Linked DNA regions of Homo sapiens: region 2 is linked to region 1. Evidence: promoter capture Hi-C in 16 types of primary human blood cells and fetal thymus (Javierre and others, 2016). All regions are on one chromosome and are shown on one strand. The core of a region is centred on a gene start or on the middle of the fragment in contact, and the rest is flanking DNA. Distances in the headings are between cores, read along the strand shown.

Region 1 (4,656 bases), core at 1,320-3,819:
CAATATTATGATATGGTTTCCTTTTACCAAGTCTGAAGTAATTTAACCGTTATAAAAATGTGGTATTCCTCAATCCAAGAGACTTTTGTAATGAACTGTTGTTGAAATAATACGGATAAATTACCTGTAGTATAAAGGAAGCTCTTCAGAGCTAATTACACCTAATTTAATACCAGATAGGTGTGGTGGAAGAGAAGAGCTATACAGAGATACTGCTAGCTTTTCATGGTATCTGTCAATATCCTTGATTCCAGCTTAAGAAAAAAAAAAAGAGAACTAAGCTGATTAGTAAGAAAATGTAAACTAACATAAAAAATATAAACTTTCCCAAACACTACCCTCTTAGACTGTATTTTTTTAAATTAATAAAAACAAAAATTCAACAATCATTACTTTTTTATTAGTATGATGAAACTAATCACCTCGAATGATGTCACCAGTTTGGTAATATGATAAAGGATCCCCATGGTTACTGTGAGAAGGCACATCTCTTAAGGGACAAAGAGCCTGTAATGAGAAGTATTTTAAAACACCAGACATTTCAAGCTTTGATAAGAACAGTGTCTTCTTTTATCTTAGTTGTTTGGTATGAAACAGCTAGTAGTTGAACAACCTAAAGTAAAAATTTAAATAAGGATTTAGTTAAAAGTAATTTCCGTGTCCAAACACAGTAAAATATGTTTGCTGGTTCAGTTAAAAAACTAAAATCTCATGAAACTTTCCATTAGTTTAGGAACCAAATATGATGGCTTATGACAGTATACAACATGCATCAAAAACAAACTAAAATTTGTCTAAAAGGTATAAGGATTCCAGTGAAAATGAAATGCCAATTCTCCAAAGTATTTTGTCTGTTATCCAATCTGTAATACCTTCTGCTTTTCTTCCTTTTTATCTGCCTGGATAGATGGCAAATACCCAATCTTTTATCGTGACACATTAGTTTAAATTCAGGACTATCCATCTTGGGCAAAGTATCTTAATATAATGTACAAACCACTTACATTTAATTATTGTAAATATATAAATGAAACTTCTCTCCAAATTATCCACATGAAAATATACAATGCCAAATATTAACTAATTAAGAATACATATGTTCAACTACAAGAAATAAGTCTGAATATCAATCAACCTCACCACGTCCACTGATACCTCTTTGAGCATTTAGAAAAGAACACTGTGCCTGCCAACCAGTTTAAATTTAAAAAATCCCAAAAACCAGAAATGGAGGGAGAAACTGGGTAACTTACACTAATTTTTTTAAACTATTTTTCTCCAATTAACATTTAATTTCCAAAAGCATCTTGGCAGGTATACTTGAGCACAACTGCATGCAAAGATATAGTTCTTGCATTGAGATGCGTTAACAAAAACAGAAGCAATCCAAGTAACAAAAATAACTTACTGTGATTTCTAAGTGGGCTATATCTCTCATGATACCACTTCCTAAACAGATCAACACCATGAAAAAACCGAATTCCCGAATAGAACTAATTCTTCCAATCACTATATCACCACGCTCAATATCTCGGAAAAACAGCTCTCTCCGATCCATACTAGGTATCTCCATGAATTGCTCTAAAGGTGGCATGATTGCATAATGATCTAAAAAAAAAAAATTAACAAAATCACTAACGATAGTTTTGAGTTCCGTTTCACCTGAAGTACTGTTAAACCGAACCGCAATCTTAAAGATTTTAAGGCTAAACTGACCTTCACTGTCTTCATTAATTTCAGAAGTTGCAGGTGCATCTGATTTCCAGGAAAGTGCAAAAAGCAGATCCGCTTTTTTGGAGATGAATTTCTGTATCTCGATGTTGTCAACTCTCTTCTCTTTTCTTAAAAAGAAAAAAATATATATGAAAATTGGGTTATCTGCAAAGCCTCTTTACTTCTAACCTTCTGCTTATGGCTTTCATCGCCCATTCCGCTCCATCCTAAGCTGCAGACAATACAACCTCAGACAAAAAGTTTTAACTAGGCATTCCCTCATTAACCAACCTGGAGGTGGAGAGCGGGGAAACTTAAAAAGTGACGCCTCCAACTCAGATAGGAAAGCTCAAGGGATTTTTAGCTAAGGAATCTGCGCCTCTACCAAGCAGTGCCAGAGAAAAAGTTCAGCCCGCATCCCGCATTGCACAACCCAGGAGCGCCCCCCGTCCACCCAGCCCAAGACACCAGCGCGCGATCGTCCTGTGCTCACGGCCGCGGCTCCACTTCCTCTAGACGCAAACCCGGGGCTGCGGTAGTGGCTGCCAGAGCTGCGTCCCCTCTTCCGTGGCGCAGTGGCACCAACGTCTCATTACCTGCCCTGCAACGGGTGCTGGGGCGGCGGGCCCCGGGCTGGCTCGGCGGCCGACCCCAGGAGGCTACGGAAGTGTGGATTGTCCTGCTGTTCGCTCCGAAGTAGAGAGAGCAAAGACGACCCGTGGCAATTTAGCGACTGCCGCAAAAGGTCCCGGTCCATGGCTAGAGAATGCAGGGCCCGGAGGCCGACGGGCTGATAGTTCCCTGTTCCGTGTCCGCTACTTGAGCCGGGTGGTACAGGAAGCGGAAGAAACTGTCTGGAGGCTGCCGGAAGTACACAGACAGCACAACCAGTTACACCCGGAAGTGTTCTGGGGTCGCCCCCACGGCGGCGCGGCGGAGCTCAGCCTCGATCTCGCGAAACCGAGCGAGACTACGGAAGGCCGAAGGATTGGGCTCAGCATTGCTTGGGCTAAAGGCTGACTAGGGCTTCCAGGAAGTGATGTATGTGAGAAGTTTGCTTTTTAAAGTGTACGTGGGATCGTTATTACGTCGAAATAGCTCGAGCTGTAACCTAGGGTAAATAATAATTCCTTTTCGTATTCATCAAGGTGCTTCTAAGTGCCAGTGCCAGGGTAAGAACCCTATACGAGTCTCCAAGCTTCTTCCCTCGACGTACTCTCTGCGTAAATCAATACCTGTGTCTCTGGCGTAACCCCATTCAACCGGCTGCTCCGGGAAGGTTTCCAGGTGGTTTTAAGGGCAGAAGAAAGGAAGGACACGGACATTTGTTAAGCACCTGGAGTGGTGTTCTCCATCCATACCCCATTTACTGTTAGTGATTGTGAATTCTAAAACCAGGATGGCTTTAATGTCTCCACACGTGCATATGCCATTCAAGTTTTACAATAACTAATGAACACATGCATTTCTTATTTAGTTTATCTCAATGGTTGCTCAAAATTTAGTGTCTGTGGGACTTACTGTATAGTGGTATGTACGCAAAAGTCAATATACTGTTCTTATGGACAATTCAAGTGATTTTCAAAGGGAATTTCAACTTAGGTCCCCCATCCCCTTACTTACTGACTTGAGAACCTAACCACTATGGTAGCTATTGTACTTTTTCATTTTAGAAAACGAGGAAACATGCTCAGAGAGTCCCAGTAAATTGCTCAATGGCACACAGCTAGTAAGAGGCTAGAGTTAGGATTCCAAACGAAGTATTAATTGGTCTTCTCAGGCAGAGTTGCTGGATTGAGTATTTTATCATATGGAAGGTCTAACTAACCCTAATTTTGAGATCATGTAGCTTCGTTTTATTCCAGTATAAAATTTGTACCATTTAAATATGTTCAGTGTAAATAGTTCAGTATAGTCCTCTTGAACAGAAATAAACGGTGACAGTTAGTCTCTCCACTTCCCACCATGTGTCTTTGAGGAAATCAACTTGCCTTTCACTGTGTTACCACTTTTGTATAGGAGATCTAGCCCAGAACATAATCGATACTGCCACACTGTTTTGTGGAAAACCCAGGCAAATAGGTAAACAGTTTGAGACTTGAGAAAATGCAACAAACAAGAATGCAACTGTAAAAGATAAATTTGGGTTAGGCACGGTGGCTCACACCTGTAATCCCAGTACTTTGGGAGGCCGAGGGTGGATCACTTGAGGTCAGGAGTTCAGAGACCAGCTTGGCCACCATGGCCTAACCCCGTCTCTACTAAAAATACAAAAATTAGCCGAGCGTGGTGGCTCATGCCTGTAGTCCCAGCTACTCGGGAGGCTGAGGCACGAGAATCTCTTGAACTCCGGAGGCGGGGGTTGTAATGAACTGAGATCGCGCCACGGCAGTCCAGCTTGGGCGCCGGAGGGAGACTCCGTCTCAATAAATAAATAAATAAATAAATTTCAAGCTTCTATAGGCATATCAACTTTAATAAATGGTACAGACTGACTTGTTTTAAGCCATAACTCTAGAGAATGGTTGTTTTTAGGAAAGAGTGCTGTCACTGAAAAGGAAAGCTGACCACTAAAAATTATTATAGACATCTTGATAAGTATGTGATTTGTGTTAGAGTCAATCTGTGATCAAGGACCTCATTTTTTGGAGGGACTAAGAAACCGGTGTCTGAGAACCAGACACCAAATAGTGTTACTTAGCCTGGGAATGTCACCTTCTGAGGCCATTCTTCAGTAGCACATGGTTTTATCACTATGGGATCTGTCTATACTTCTTCCTAATTCCAACACTAGGATAACCCTCCCCCACCTCATACCTTGAACATCTGAAATGGCCGTGAACATAGAAAGCAGCTCCTTTTAGGGGGTAAACAGCATTTATCAAGAGTGATATTTTTCGTATAGTAGTGACAGAAGAAATGCACTTTAAGCAAATGTACTCA
Region 2 (4,681 bases), core at 271-2,770, 4.9 Mb before region 1:
TCTCAGCTCACTGCAACCTCCACCTCCCAGGTTCAATTGATTCTCCTGCCTCAGCCTCCTGAGTAGCTGGGATTACAGGCATGTGCCACCACACCCGGCTAATTTTTGTATTTTTATTAGAGACAGGGTTTCACCACGTTAGCCAGGCTCGTCTCGAACTCCTGTCCTCAGGTGACTACCCGTCTCGGCCTCCCAAAGTGCTGGGATTACAGGCATGAGCCACCACACCCGGCCAAAAATGGATTCTCTATGTCATAAATTAAAGAAATCTATAAATGTATTCCTGTGTGGCACATCTTCTTACAGATTTACATTTGCAGCAAATACAGAGTCTGTTTTATTTAAGTGAGGGATGACTGAACTCTGAGTGGAACAAGCTCTTGGACATGTTACCATCCTTCCTCCTCCTTCTCACATTTCCTCAGCAATTGTGGATAGAGAGATCAGTGTGCTGTAGGCCCTGGTTTTTTTTTTTTTTTTTTTTTTTTTTTTTTAGATGGAGTCTCCTTCTGTTACCCAGGCTGGAGTGCAGTGGCACGATCTTGGCTCACTGCAACCTCTGCCTCCCGGGTTCAAGCAATTCTCTGCCTCAGCCTCCCAAGTAGCTGGGATTACAGGCGCCCCCACCATGCCTGGCTAATTTTTGTATTTTTAGTAGAGACCTGGTTTCACCATCTTGGCCTTGAACTCCTGACCTTGTGATCCACTGGCCTTGGCCTCTCAAAGTTCTGGGATTACAGGTGTGAGCCATCGTACCCGGCAGCCCTGGTTTCTTCTTAGTTTTATTGGTCTGTGTTTTGATCAGCACAGTCACTTTTTTGTTCTCTTTCCTGGTAAGCAGGGAGTCAAAACAATAGCAAGAAAATGCCAGAAATAGAATTTCTACTACTTTGTAAACTCTAGGCTCGTGGGTCTCCTAGCTCTCAGTACCTGGCTCACTGTAGGATGGGTAGATGGGTGAATGAATGGATAAAGAAAGGAAGTTTGTTCACCGGAGAGGAGATGAATTTCAGTAAGTTTCATGTAACAGTGATCAGGAGAAATAAAGGCAGTTATAACTGTGGCCACTCTGTTCTCAGAATCTTTCTTCCAAGGGCCCCTGGAACTTTTGACTGTCTCTTGTTATCCTTGCTTCTCTTCCCCTCTCTTTCTCAGTACCATATATCTGTCTGAGTGCCAAATTCAAAGCACAATTAAATTACAGTCTACCCTCTTCCCTCCCCTCTTCACTGGTGACCTCCTACTCATCATTTGGATCGTGGCTCAATTGCCACCTCCTCAGGGAGTCTTCTTGGACCTTATTTCCATACAGAGAGGTTCCACACTGTACCTCTCCTTCATAGCACTTTTTAGTTGTATTTTTAAACATTTTTTCTTTTTTTTGAGACGGAATCTCACTCTGTCACCTAGGCTGGAGTGCAGTGGTGCAATCCTGGCTCACTGTAACCTCTGCCTCCTGGGTTCCAATGTTTCTCATGCCTCAGCCTCCCAAGTAGGTGGAACTACAGGCCAGTGCCACCATGCCCAGCTAATTTTTGTATTTTTAGTAGAGACGGGGTTTCACCATATTGGCCAGGCTGATGTCAAACTCCTGACCTCAAGTGATCTGCCTGCTTCGGTCTCCCAAAGTGCTGGGATTACAGGCGTGAGCCACCGCACCCAGCCTGTTTTTTTTATTTTATTTGCCTGATTATTTGATAAATATCTGTCTTCTCCACTAGACTGCTCTGCAAGGCAGGAGCCATGTGCTTACCATATAGTCTGCTTTCAGGAAACATTTATTAAATGAACACTCTTTGTTATTTTCTGAGCCCCATGGAACCATGTTCAGTTGTGAGTAAAGACTTGCCCTCCACCCTAGCCATAGTCTGTTTCCATGAGGGTGCCTAACCTTCTGTGCCTTAGACTTTTCTCCCAGACACCTTCATTACTATTGTCTCCATTATCTTTGGAGGCCAATAGCCCATTTCCCAGACTTCCTGGAAAAGAGAGAAGTTGGCTCCTTTGTCACTTTTTTTTTTTTTTGAGATGGAGTCTTGCTCTGTTGCCCAGCTGGAGTGCAGTGACCTGATCTCAGTTCACTGCAACCTCCACCTCATGGGTTCAAGCTATTCTGCCTCAGCCTCCCGAGTAGCTGGGCTTGCAGGCACATGCCACCATGCCCAGCTAATTTTTGTATTTTTAGTAGAGACAGGGTTTCACCATGTTGGCCAGGCTGGTCTCAAACTCCTGAACTCCGGAGATCTGCCTGCCTTGGCCTCCCAAAGTGCTGGGATTATAGGTGTGAGCCACTACACCCTGCCCCTTTGTCACTTCTTATCACATCTTCCAGGTGGTCCCAACACCTCACAAGCTCACCTGTCGAAAATCTAGGGGATTTTGTCCTTACATCCTCATTTTAGCACCATTGCCAAAATGCTCCAGGACCTTACAACATTAGTGGAGGATGCCAAGCTGTAGTTATAACCCTCCCTTGTTTGCTTTTCCATGACTCTCCTTTCCACCACTCACTTTGCTGCCAACTTCGTATGTTGTATTAGTCCCTTCTCAGGCTGCTATGAAGAAATACCCAAGACTGGGTAATTTATAAAGGAAAGAGATTTAATTGACTCACAGTTCCACATGGCTGAGGAGGCCTCAGGAAACTTACAATCGTGATGGAAGGGAAACCAAACACATCCTTCTTTACATGGTGGCAGGAGAGAGAAGAATGAGAGCTGAGTGAAGGGGGAAGCCCCTTATAAAACCATCAGATCTCATGAGAACTCACTATCACGAGAATAACATGGGGGAAACTACCCTTATGATTCAATTACCTCCGACTGGGCCCCTCCCACCACAAGTGGGGATTATGGGAACTACAATTCAGGATGAGATTTGGTGGGGCCACAGTCAAACCATATCATACGTGCTTCTGTCACTGCTGTTACGCTGTGTTGTAATTTGTTTCCGTGTCTTTAACTCCTCCAAGACTGTGACCTCCACAAGAGCAGCTGCTATTTATTTTTGGCTCTCTAGCACCTAGCACAATGCTAGGCACAGAGTAGGTGCTTGATAAATGTCTGTTGGACAGAATGGAATGGATGATGCTTAGAAACTTGAGGGAATCACCTCCATTCTGACTTAGACATCAACACACTTAACAATGTTATTTCTAAAGTCCTAAACTTAGAACCTCCTACCCTTGGGCTCCTGCCCCTTGCTCTCATTCCTATAGAACTCCATTATAGCCAAGGAGACTTTGGATGCAAGGGACAGGAATCCACTCACACCCCAATTTAATAGGTTATTGAGAGAGAGAGAGAGGACTTGTGGAAACCCAGGAAGAGGTGATCCACCAAATCTCAGGAAGGGCAGGGATGGGGCAGCCCTAGAGCCTTCAGCAACAAGAGTTCGTGGGCCTTTATTAACCCTAGTGCTCTGCCATGAATCTCTTTGACTGAGCTCAGCTCCCTTCATGGGGCAGCCTCATTGGGTTCTTGGCCACTCACTGACTAGGTGGCCCAATTCCAAAGTCCAGGGACAGGAAACAGCCCTTGGCTCCTCCTCCTGAGGAAGACATCTATCCAGTTCCAATCAGTCATGGTTGGGGTGGGGGTGGGGAAGCAAAATCACATGGACTTCAGAGCTATTCTTTTCAAGTGCTCTAGGCAAGTCTGATTAAGCCAGAAAAGGTTGGCTGCTCTTCACAAAGAGGCACAGTAAATGCCAGGCTAACTCACTCCCACAGGAACGTCTTACCTGTTCTTTTCTCCCACCTGTTTCCCAATCCAGCATGTGCCTGGGAAAGGACTGCAGTTGACAGAGGATTGCAGCTGTCCTTTGTCAGACTGTGTGGGCCTGTGCTGTAAATGAGTGGCCTCGATGGGGGCTGCTGCAGCCTGCGGGAGGTGCACTGGGTGGTTAGAGTCAGCTCTGCAGGTACTGGGTTGGGGGCCAGGAGGGTTGGGAATACTGAGATTGGGGAAACACAGTCCAGGGCTTCTTCCCTAGGCAGACAGGTTGAGCGAGAAGAATGACAACATGAGTCCAGGGGGCAGGTCAGAGGAAGCAAGCAGATGCTCCAGTTGTGAGCCTGTAGCAAAGAAGGTTAGCACCACCAAAAATAGCTCCATCAAAGGTCCCTTATCGCCTCGTGTTGGCCAATTGCCATGACCCTCAGGTTTCCCTGCTGGGTTTCTCCATGGACTCTGACACTTGCCCCAGTTCCTTTCCTAACAGTCTTTCTTGGGCTCTCAGGACATTTCTTTTTTTCTGTTTCTCATCTCACAAATGAAACAGTGCATCTTGTTCTCTTTCACTGTTTCCACCATTTCCTTACCAGGCTCCTGATTTCAGTCTTCTTTCTCAAAAGGGTAGTGCATGGTAAGACATTTGGGCTCTGCTGTTTGCGAGGTGTGTGACCTCTGTTGCTCTGTTGACTTCATTCTTCCTAAGCTTCATTTTCCCAGGCTATAAATGTGGGACTGTTAAGAGTTCCTACTTTAGACCGGGCATGGTGGCTGAAGCCTGTAATCTCAGCACTCTGTGGGGCCAAGGCAGGAGGAACACCACAGGCCAGAAGTTCAAGACTAGCCTGGGCAACACAGTAATACCCTGTCCCTCAAAAAAGAGTTCCTACTTAATGAGGGTTGTTATATGGAATAAATAAATATATAATAGAATAAATAAATAAATAAAT

What was found. Contacts are between HindIII fragments. The CHiCAGO score rates a contact against its expected background, and 5 or more counts as called.
Region 2: a contact is called between a fragment that was not itself captured here and the fragment with the promoter of TTC14 in region 1, in 1 of 17 cell types (naive CD8 T cells). The highest score is 7.3, in naive CD8 T cells.

Annotation. Positions count from the first base shown.
Region 1 is chr3:180,600,076-180,604,731 of GRCh38, reverse strand. It overlaps TTC14 (tetratricopeptide repeat domain 14), which reads right to left and starts at 2,569. Exons shown (of 12, transcript NM_133462.4): 1 at 2,310-2,569; 2 at 1,717-1,841; 3 at 1,409-1,608; 4 at 423-507; 5 at 125-254. The coding sequence starts at 2,470. It overlaps TTC14-DT (TTC14 divergent transcript), which reads left to right and starts at 2,619. Exons shown (of 3, transcript NR_183700.1): 1 at 2,619-2,829. RefSeq lists an enhancer at 2,489-2,778. The HindIII fragment of the contact is 2,365 bases long and covers 549-2,913 here.
Region 2 is chr3:185,502,644-185,507,324 of GRCh38, reverse strand. LIPH (lipase H) reads left to right here. Exons shown (of 10, transcript NM_139248.3): 10 at 1-1,063. TMEM41A-DT (TMEM41A divergent transcript) reads right to left here. Exons shown (of 3, transcript XR_924792.3): 2 at 3,742-3,881; 3 at 2,581-3,062. Among named protein-coding and RNA genes, the nearest start is that of TMEM41A-DT, 5.8 kb to the right of the region's middle. The HindIII fragment of the contact is 5,838 bases long and covers 1-4,439 here.